Regions from separate parts of the Homo sapiens genome. Here region 1 is linked to region 2. Evidence: promoter capture Hi-C in human tissues and cell types (Jung and others, 2019). All regions are on one chromosome and are shown on one strand. Each heading gives the region's core, a stretch centred on a gene start or on the middle of the fragment in contact. The rest is flanking DNA. Distances are from core to core; before and after follow the strand shown.

Evidence for each region. Contacts are between HindIII fragments. The study calls those that stand out against the background at their distance.
Region 1: a contact is called between a fragment that was not itself captured here and the fragment with the promoter of CHST6 in region 2, in 1 of the 25 tissues and cell types used here (mesendoderm cells).

Annotation. Positions count from the first base shown.
Region 1 is chr16:75,450,475-75,455,041 of GRCh38, reverse strand. TMEM170A (transmembrane protein 170A) reads left to right here. Exons shown (of 3, transcript NM_145254.3): 2 at 3,203-3,373. Among named protein-coding and RNA genes, the nearest start is that of TMEM170A, 12 kb to the left of the region's middle. The HindIII fragment of the contact is 5,235 bases long and covers 1-4,407 here.
Region 2 is chr16:75,491,927-75,496,715 of GRCh38, reverse strand. It overlaps CHST6 (carbohydrate sulfotransferase 6), which reads left to right and starts at 1,275. Exons shown (of 3, transcript NM_021615.5): 1 at 1,275-1,776. RefSeq lists a silencer at 1,072-1,401 and an enhancer at 1,702-1,881. The HindIII fragment of the contact is 2,567 bases long and covers 1-2,167 here.

The sequences.
Region 1 (4,567 bases), core at 541-3,040, 42 kb after region 2:
TTACGTGGGTGCACAGAATGTGTTTTCCAAATTCTGCAGTGATAGCCATGCAGGTGACTTCTAGTTTTTGATATTATGGACAATGCTGTTGGGACCTTCTTGTTACCTCTGTCCTTGCCTACCTATGCTTTTCTGTGGGGTGTATCCCCGGAAGTAAAATTGTTGCAGCAAGGGCCATGCACATTTGACTTCCAAATTACCCTGCAAAAAGGTGGTTTTCCAGTTTGTATTCCAACTAGGAGTGTCAGGTGGGGCCTGTGGAATAATGTCATGACAACCGTTACTGCTCAAAACCTATACTGGCACTTTAGATCTTTTGTGAAGTCCTTAGTCTGGTGTCAAATTCCCCAAAGGGTTTCCCTCATCTGTCTTTATAGCTTTAACTGTCATTGCTCTTTTATTTTTTTGAGACGGAGTGTCATTCTGTCTCCCAGGCTGGAGTGCAGTGGTGTGATCTGAGCTCACTGCAACCTCTGCCTCCTGGGTTCAAGCGATTCTCCTGCCTCAGCCTCCCAAGTAGCTGGGACTACAGGTGCCTGCCACCATGCCCGGCTAATTTTGTGTGTGTGTGTATGTGTGTGTATTTTTAGAGAGACAGGGTTTCACTATGTTGGCCAGGCTGGTCTTGAACTCCTGACCTCGTGATTAGCCCACCTCGACCTCCCAAAGTGGTGGGATTACAGGTGTGAGCTACCACGCCCGGCCATCATGGCTCTTATAAAGCCTCTGTGCTTTGGTAAAGCCCGTGGTTTTTAATCAGGGTAGTTTTGCCCCCTTGGGGACATTTGACAATGTCTGGAAATATTTTTGGTTGACACAACTGGGAATAGAGTGCTGCAGGCCAGAGGTGCCTCTCCATATCCTGCAGTGCACAGTGCAGCCCCCACAATGAAAAGTTATCTGGTCCAAATGTCAATAGGGCGGAGGGCGGTGGTCAAGAAACCCTGCTGAGCTAAGCTCTTCACTGATCTCAAAAATCACTTGCTACTTACCTGCCTCTAGCCAAGGATGGACAGTGGGTTTTATCTAATGTGTCACCGCCAGTCCCTCCCTGTGGGTAGCTGGAGAGCTACCTTGAGGATTCTAAGGCCTTGCCTTGGGTTCACTGGGGGGAAATGCTACATGGGCCATTTAACAAATTGTAAAGTCACATTCCAGCAGGATGGTTTTGTTTTCTTTATATGGGTGCCTCATGCATAGTTTTTCATACATAGTTGATGATTATATGTATCTTAATGTTGCCTGAGTTACAGACACCTTAAGAGTGATTAGAGTTCTGTAGGAGCCAGCTCTCCTAACCTGCACTGTTGTTTACCTGCCATTTGTCTTCAAGCCAAACATTTATATTTTCTGGTATTTATTTCATATCCTAAAGAGCTTTGAAATCCTAATAGGAGGTGATGGCTTGATATTTACTGCATTGTCTTTCAAATGATTGTGGAATGAATATAATTGTATAGCTGTCCATTTTAGAAGACTGAGTGATCAAAAGGTCAGGAAAGATCAACAGGCATTGATTGCATAGTACCGTATCAATTGGCTCTTTGGCTTGTGCCTCTTATGGGGGAATTATTTTTGTTTGGGTTTTTTGGTTTTTGGGGGAGTTTTTTGAGACCGTCTCACCCTGTTGCCCAGGCAGGAGTGCAGTAGCATGATCTTGACTTACTGCAACCTCTGCCTCCCAGGCTCAAGCAATCCTCCCACCTCAGCCTCTCGAGTAGCTAGGACTACAGGTATGCAATACCATGCCAGGCTAATTTTTGTATTTTTTGTAGAGACAGGGTTTCGCTGTATTGCCCAAGCTAGTCTCAAACTCCTGGGCTCAAGCGACCTGCCCACCTTGGCCACCTGAAGTGTTGGGATTACAGTCGTGAGCTGCCGTGCCCAGTTATGGTCGGGGACATTATTTAGGTCAATTTTGAAATCTAGATGAACCTTTTTTTTCAGTTTGAGGGTACAGAGATTGGTCAGCTTTTTCTGTGAAGGGCCAGATAGTAAATATGTTAGGCTTTATGGGTCATGTGGTCTGTGTCACTGTTATCAGCTTTGCCCTTGAAGCTGGAAGGCAGCCATAAACAATACTTAAATGAAAGGGCATGGGTTGAATAAGTATGTGTGTGCAAAACTCTTGTAAATGGTTTCAGATAAGTGTGTATGTATAAAAGTATTATGAATGGGTTCAGATAAGTGTGTAAAAAACAGGTGGTGGGTCTGTAGGCAGTAATTTGTTGAACACACTAAAACCGTCAATATTTGGATATTTGACTGATGAACCCTACTTTGCAAGTAAATGATGTTGAAGGCCGGGTGCGGTGGCCTCACACCTGTAATCCCTGCCCTTTAGGAGGCCAAGTTGGGCGGATTGTTTGAGCCGAGGCATTCAAGACCAGCCTGGGCAACACGGTGAGACCCCATCTCTAAAGAAAATACAGGCCAAGCGCAGTGGCTCATGCCTGTTATCCTAGCACTTTGGGAGGCCAAGGCGGGCAGATCACCTGAGGTTGGGAGTTTGAGACCAGCCTGGCGAAACTCCCACTGCACTCCATCCTGGGCAACAGAGTAGTGAGACCCTGTCTCATAAAAAAAGAAAATTAAAAAAAAAAGAATTTTGCCAGGCGTGGTAGCACACATCTGTAGTTCCAGCCACTCCGGAGGCTGAGGCGGGAGAACACCCAGACCTAGGAGGTCAAGGCTGCAGTGAGCCATGATGGTGCCATTGCACTGCAGCCTGGGTGACGGAGTGAGACCCCGTCTTTAAAAATAAAAATTTTTGACTGGGCGCGGTGGCTCACGCCTGTAATCCCAGCACTTGGGAGGCCGAGGCGGGCGGATCATGAGGTCAGGAGATCGAGACCATCCTGGTTAACATGGTGAAACCCCGTCTCTACTAAAAATACAAAAAATTAGCCAGGCGCGGTGGCGGGTGCCTGTAGTCCCAGCTACTCGGGAGGCTGAGGCAGGAGAATCGTGTGAACCCAGGAGGCAGAGCTTGCAGTGAGCCGAGATCACGCCACTGTACTCCAGCCTGGGTGACAGAGCGAGACTCCGTCTCAAAAAAAAATTAAAAATAATAAAAATTTTTCAAAAAAAAGGAAAAAAGAAACGGTGTTGAAAATGAAATGACGGGTATGATGAGTACCCTCTGCAATGATTGTCCTGGGAAGGGCAGTGATTCACAACTTTTCTTTGTCTTCCCTCATAGAGATGTGGTATGGTGTATTCCTGTGGGCACTGGTGTCTTCTCTCTTCTTTCATGTCCCTGCTGGATTACTGGCCCTCTTCACCCTCAGACATCACAAATATGGTAGGTTCATGTCTGTAAGCATCCTGTTGATGGGCATCGTGGGACCAATTACTGCTGGAATCTTGACAAGTATGTTAGACATTAAAATACCAGTCAAAAATGTTTAATATGACTAGTCAATTTCAGGACCTATTCTAGAAAACATATCTGAGTAGGATGAAGGAAAGAGTGCCTTTTAACTGCAAGTCCAGACAGGGTCTCCCTATGTCACCAAGGCCGGAGTGCAGTGGTTGCAATATTGGCTCACTGCAGCCTCCACCTCTTGGGCTCAAGTAATCCTCCTCCATCAGCCTCCCAAGAAGCTTGGACTACAGGGGTGTGCCACCATGCCCCGCTAATTTTTTTTGTATTTTTTGTAGAGACAGGGTTTCGTCATGTTGCCCGGGTCTCGAACTCCTGAGCTCAAGCAATCTGCCCACCTTGGCCTCCCAAAATGCTGGGATTACAGGCGTGAGCCACTGTGCCTGGCCCAGTTTTTTTAATGTATTGATTTTTTTTTTCCACCCCCAAGGTCCTATTACTTGGCTAACCTCTTTGACTTCTTGAGTCAGATTTCATCTCAGTGGCTTCAGGGAAGTCATGTTAAACTTTGTGAGATATATCTCGTGAGAGAGGCCACCAGCAAGAGGAAAATTTATCTTTTTGGAAGCTACTTCTCCTCTCTGATCAGCTATCACTTGAGCATTGGCCCTGCAAGATGGTTGGTGAATTACTTCCACTCATGTGGGTGTGGTTGCTGTAAAGATAGAAGACAAATTTTGATGACAAGAATTCTTTGCCAGGTGTAGTGGCTCATGACTGTAATCCCAGCACTTTGGGAGGCAGAGGTGGGAGGCTTGCTGAAGCCTAGGAAATTGAGACTAGCCTCAGCAACATAGCAAGACCCCATCTCTACAAATAAAAATAAAAAATTTAGCTGAGTGTGGTGGTGTGTACCTGTGGTTCCAACTACGTGGGAGGCTGAAATGGGAGGATTGCTGGAGCCAGGAGGTCCAGGCTGGGCTGCAGTGAGTCGTGATCACACCACAGCACTCCAGCCTGGGCCACAGAGCAAGACCCGGGGGAAAAAAAAAGAATTCTTGCTTAGAAAAGTACCCGATTAGTGCTCTAGTTATTTTTTTCCCCTTAGGACTTTCTGAATAAGAATTGGAGTAACATGATGTTATGAATTATTTTCAGGCTTGTTTTTGGGGCGTTTGGTTTGTTATGGCTTTTGCTTATGGGATAAGAAACAGTTACAGAAATGAGAACAATAAGTTTAAA
Region 2 (4,789 bases), core at 26-2,525:
TTCTCCCAGCAGCAGGGAGTTCTTGATTAAGATCCCATCACTAATTTGACAAGACCTAGAAATGCTTCATCCTTTTCAGGTGCCTGGGCTCTGCCCTGTTATTTGTAAAGGGGATTTTTTTTTTTTTTTTTTTTGAAACAGTTTCGCTCTGTCGCCCAGGCTGGAGTGCAGTGGTGCAATCTCAGCTCACTGCAACCTCCGCTTCCTGGGCTCAAGCAGTTCTCCTGCCTTAGCCTCCTGAGTAGCTAGGATTACAGGTGCCTGCCACCACGCCCGGCTAATTTTTGTATTTTTAGTAGAGACGGGGTTTCACCCTGTTGGCCAGGCTGGTCTCGAACTCCTGACCTCGTGATCCACCCACTACGGCCCCCCAAAGTGCTGGGATTACAGGCGTGAGACACCGCGCCTGGCCGGATTTTTTTTTTTTTTTTTTGCGAGGGAGTCTCGCTTTGTCGCCCAGGCTGGAGTGCAGTGGTGCGATCTCGGCTCACTGCAAGCTCCGCCTCCCGGGTTCACGCCATTCTCCTGCCTCAGCCTCCCGAGTAGCTGGGACTACAGGTGCCCGCCACCAGGCCTGGCTAATTTTTTTGTATTTTTAGTAGAGACGGGGTTTCACTGTGTTAGCCAGGATGATTTCGATCTCCTGACCTCGTGATCCGCCCGCCTCGGCCTCCCAAAGTGCTGGGATTACAGGCGTGAGCCACCGCGCCCAGCCCTGGCCGGAAATATCTTATTTATTGAAACGTATCATGTCTTTATCTGGACCTGCTATGAACCTGCGCCTCTGGGCCTAGGCTAGGGCAGGGAATGCGCAGGAGGAGGGGAAAAGCTGCGGACCCAGCTCCTAAGGCCACCTGGTCTCTCCGCTCTTCCCAGTTGGGACACTGCACCGGGTCCATGTGTCATCCAGGTGCCGTGGCCTTGGGAAGGGTTTGGATTCCAAGTCACCTCGCCGCAAGGATGCCCCCGAGAGTGAGGAGGGTCAAGATTAAGATTCGACTTCCTTCACTAGGGCCTTTGTCCTCCCAGGAGCCCCCCTTCTCTGGGGATTTGGGGTGGGGTGGGGTACAACGTTCCTCTGTAGTCAGATGAGAGGTGACTCTGCCAGCGCCCTTTGACATTCTGGGCTAAAAGTTGAGCCTCTCAGAGCCCCAGCCCACCTGGGCCCTCCTGCCCCGCCCTCGGCCGGCGCCCCTCCCCCGAGGCGTGGCCCCTCGGTCGGGGGTGGGCCAACCGGCTCCTTCCTTCCCCCACGGCGCTAGCTCCCGCTGGCCACCTCGGGACCGCAGCCACGTCTGAAAGCGCCTCATTGTGTGCGCTCGGGCGGGCTGCACCGGGCAGCGCCGAGGGTTGCCGGCCGGCGCGCGGGGAGTAGAGGGCGCGGGCCGCAGTGCCGGGTTCCAGAGGGAGCTCTGCGCCGGGTCCTTCCCTGTGGTAGCCCCAGGACACCCCCAGCCTCAACATCCCATTCTGGGACTCCTGCCCTGTTCCCACATTCGTTCTACCTCGAGTCTCCAGGAGCTTCCAGTGGCTTGGTCACCGCCAACTCTCGTCCATGCCTCTTAGAGCCCCTTTCCCGGCCTCACCGGGTGTCGCTTAATAGTCTTGGGACCTTAAGGAGCAAGTCAGCCCCTGCGGACCCTCCCAGTGAAGAGAAAGAGCTGGCTGTGCGGTGGAATTTGGAAGAGACGACGTTTGGGAGCCTTTGCTGAGTCCAGGGAGAGAGGCGTCCCCCACCGTGCCGCTGCAGCTCGGGCAGAGCCGCCAAGCTTTGGGGTACGTTGGTTCTTCATTCTCCGCGGGGGATGTCCCCACACTCGGGTCGGCTGGGGGCCGGGCTGGTGGCACAGCTGGGGACGCTCCTCTGTCCTGCACCGGGGACCTGGGGTGGCGGGAAGAGCTGGGAGTGGCTTTTCCATCAGCAACGTGGAAAGGGCATCGCCGCTGTTGGCGCCGGTTTGGAAGTGTCTTGCTGGGGCTTCGGCTGCGCAGGAGAATCCTCACTGCGAGGGGAGAACCCCTTTTGTCTCGATACTTGAGTTTCAAAGGACATGACTTTCAAAAGCTCTCCAAGGGCTTTTTCCATAGAATTATTGAGAGACGGTAGCTTGGCGGGTTGATTTGGAACCAGACCCAGGGGAATTGGAGTCCTGCGTCACTGCTTCTGACGGCTTCATCTTGGGCTTCAGGACAGGCCCTCTGGGCCTCAGGACAGGTGCCTAGCAAATGTTGACTTTCCTTTCTCCTCCCTTTTTCACAGAGGCAAGGCAGTCAAGTTTCCCATTTTTGAGGATGGGAAAACTGAGGCCTGAAGAGCAGAAAGGAGTTGGCTGACTTAAACCCACAAGCGAGTAGGCCAAGTACCAGGGCCTCTGAGGGTGCTATGCTGCTCCGGGAGCTGGGGCTGGGCTCCTCTCCAGCCTGAGAGGCCGGAACTTTTCTGGCTTTGTTCTACAAACAGAGTCAACTGGAGTATAGAGAGCCAGAGAGTGACTTGCTCTAAGTCACACCCCTCACTGGTAGTAGAGACAGGATTTGAACCCAATCCGGCTTCAGAAGCCAAGCTTCTAAGGCCAGTCGCAGTGGTTCACGCCTGTAATCCCAGCACTTTGGGAGGCCGAGGCAGGTGGATCACCTGAGGTCAGGAGTTCAAGACCAGCCTGGCCAACATGGTGAAACCCCATCTCTACTAAAAATACAAAAATAAGCTGGGCATGGTGGTGAGTGCCTGTAATCCCAGCTACTTGGGAGGCTGAGGCAGAAGAATCACTTGAACCCAGGAGGCGGAGGTTGCAGTGAGCTGAGATTGCGGTACTTCACTCCAGTCTGGACAACAGCGAGACTCCATCTCAGAAAAAACACAAGCCAGGCCTCTAGCCATGACTTTCCAGCGTCTTCTGTTTTGTTTGCCCTTGTGGGGACCCTGTCTGTGCCTGCCACATTCTGTTGCTGGGGCACTGGGGCACCTGAATCTGGTAGAGCCATTGTCCTTGGGTTTTCCTCATTCAAAGACTTTCCCTTGGATTCATAGAATATAAGTGTGGCCCAGGAAGGAAGATTGCTAAGCAAATACTCATAAGTGCACTATGCGCCAGACTTTGTTCTGCTTTACAAATATCCACTCACTCACTCTTTCAATCAAGCCCATGAGTTGGGTTATATTGTTTCCCCCACTTTACAGATTTTTTTTTTTTTTTTTGATACGGAGTCTCGCTCTGTCACCGAGGCTGGAGTGCAGTGAAAGTGACATAATCTCGGCTCACTGCAACCTCTCCGCATCCCAGGTTCAAGCGATTCTCCTGCCTCAAATTCCTGAGTAGCTGGGATTACAGGCACCCGCCACCACGCCCGGCTAATTTTTGTATTTTTAGTAAAGATGGGGTTTCACTATGTTGGTCAGGCTGGTCTCAAACTCCTGACCTCGTGATCCGCCCTCCTCAGCCTCGCAAAGTGCTGGGATTACAGGTGTGAGCCACCGCACCTGACCTTCCAGATTTTTTTTTAACCAAGCAGGCACAGAAGGAAGTAACTTGCACAAGATCGCTCAGTAAATGGTCAAGTGGGATTCACACTCTTAACCTCAGTGCTCTATACCTACTGTCTTTAATGAGACAGACACCATTCTGCTTCTAGTGTCTTGGGCGGGGAAATGGGTCCAGAAATACATGAACAAGATTGTTCTGGGTAGTGATAATAGTATTAATAATAATTTCTCACTATCACCTATTAGTCAATATTGAAATATATCTGATTACCTCTAGGGTATCTCCTGGCAGATGTTTTTTTCAAATCAGAATCCACACAAGGTCCACATGTTGCATTTGACTATGTGTTTTTTGGTTTTGGTTTTTGTTTTTGTTTTTGTTTGAGATGGAGTCTCTCTCTGTCGCCCAGACTGGAGTGCAGTGGCGTGATCTCAGCTCACTGCAGCTTCGGACTCCTGGCTCCAGTGATTCTCCTGCCTCAGCCTCCTGGGTAGCTAGGATTACAAGCACGTGCCACCACACCTGGCTACTTTTTGTGTATTTAGTAAAGACAGGGTTTCACCATGTTTGGCCAGGCTGGTCTCCAACTCCTGACCTAAGGTGATCTGCCTGTCTTGGCCTCCCAGAGTGCTGGGATTACAGGCGTGAGCCACCGCGCCCGGCCCTGAGTTATTTTCCTATAAAATAGTCTCTTCCTTTTTCTGTCATAGATTTGGAAGTATGATTTACTTTTAAAAAATAAGGTAATTAAAATAAATGGTTAATAAACCAGGGAACATTCCAGATTATCTCTGTAATGAGAGGGCTCTGTCAATACTTAGGGAAACAGGCAAATGTGCTAAAAGCACAGTCCCACTCCGTACCCTGTGTGTGTTGCTGCACAGAAGAAGTGGGGAACCCTCAGACTTTATGGCCTCCAGCTGTAAGGTACTACAATTTAGACCAAGGCAGGTGCTGTTTGAAGTGCCCTGTGAGAATCCCTAAAGCTCCCAGCCAAGGAAAAGGGTTTGTGTGTTGCTATCTGCTTATCTGCTCTGAAATGCCCCAGGGCAGTGGCTCTGAGCCAGGGAGGCTTGAGGCTCCTTTCCCAGGCTAATTAGAATTCATTTCCCAGTAGATTTTGAAGGCAGATCTGTTTTCTCCATCAGCATCTGGGCCTTGCAGTCCCAGCCCCCTGCCTCTGGGGGATGCCATGCAGCTGCATCACCAGGACTGGCAGAGTTGGCAGATGTGGCCAGGGCTTGGGGGCCAGGCACAGCTTCAGCCACAGCCTGGCCCAGCCCACAGTCCTGGTGTTGAGAGTG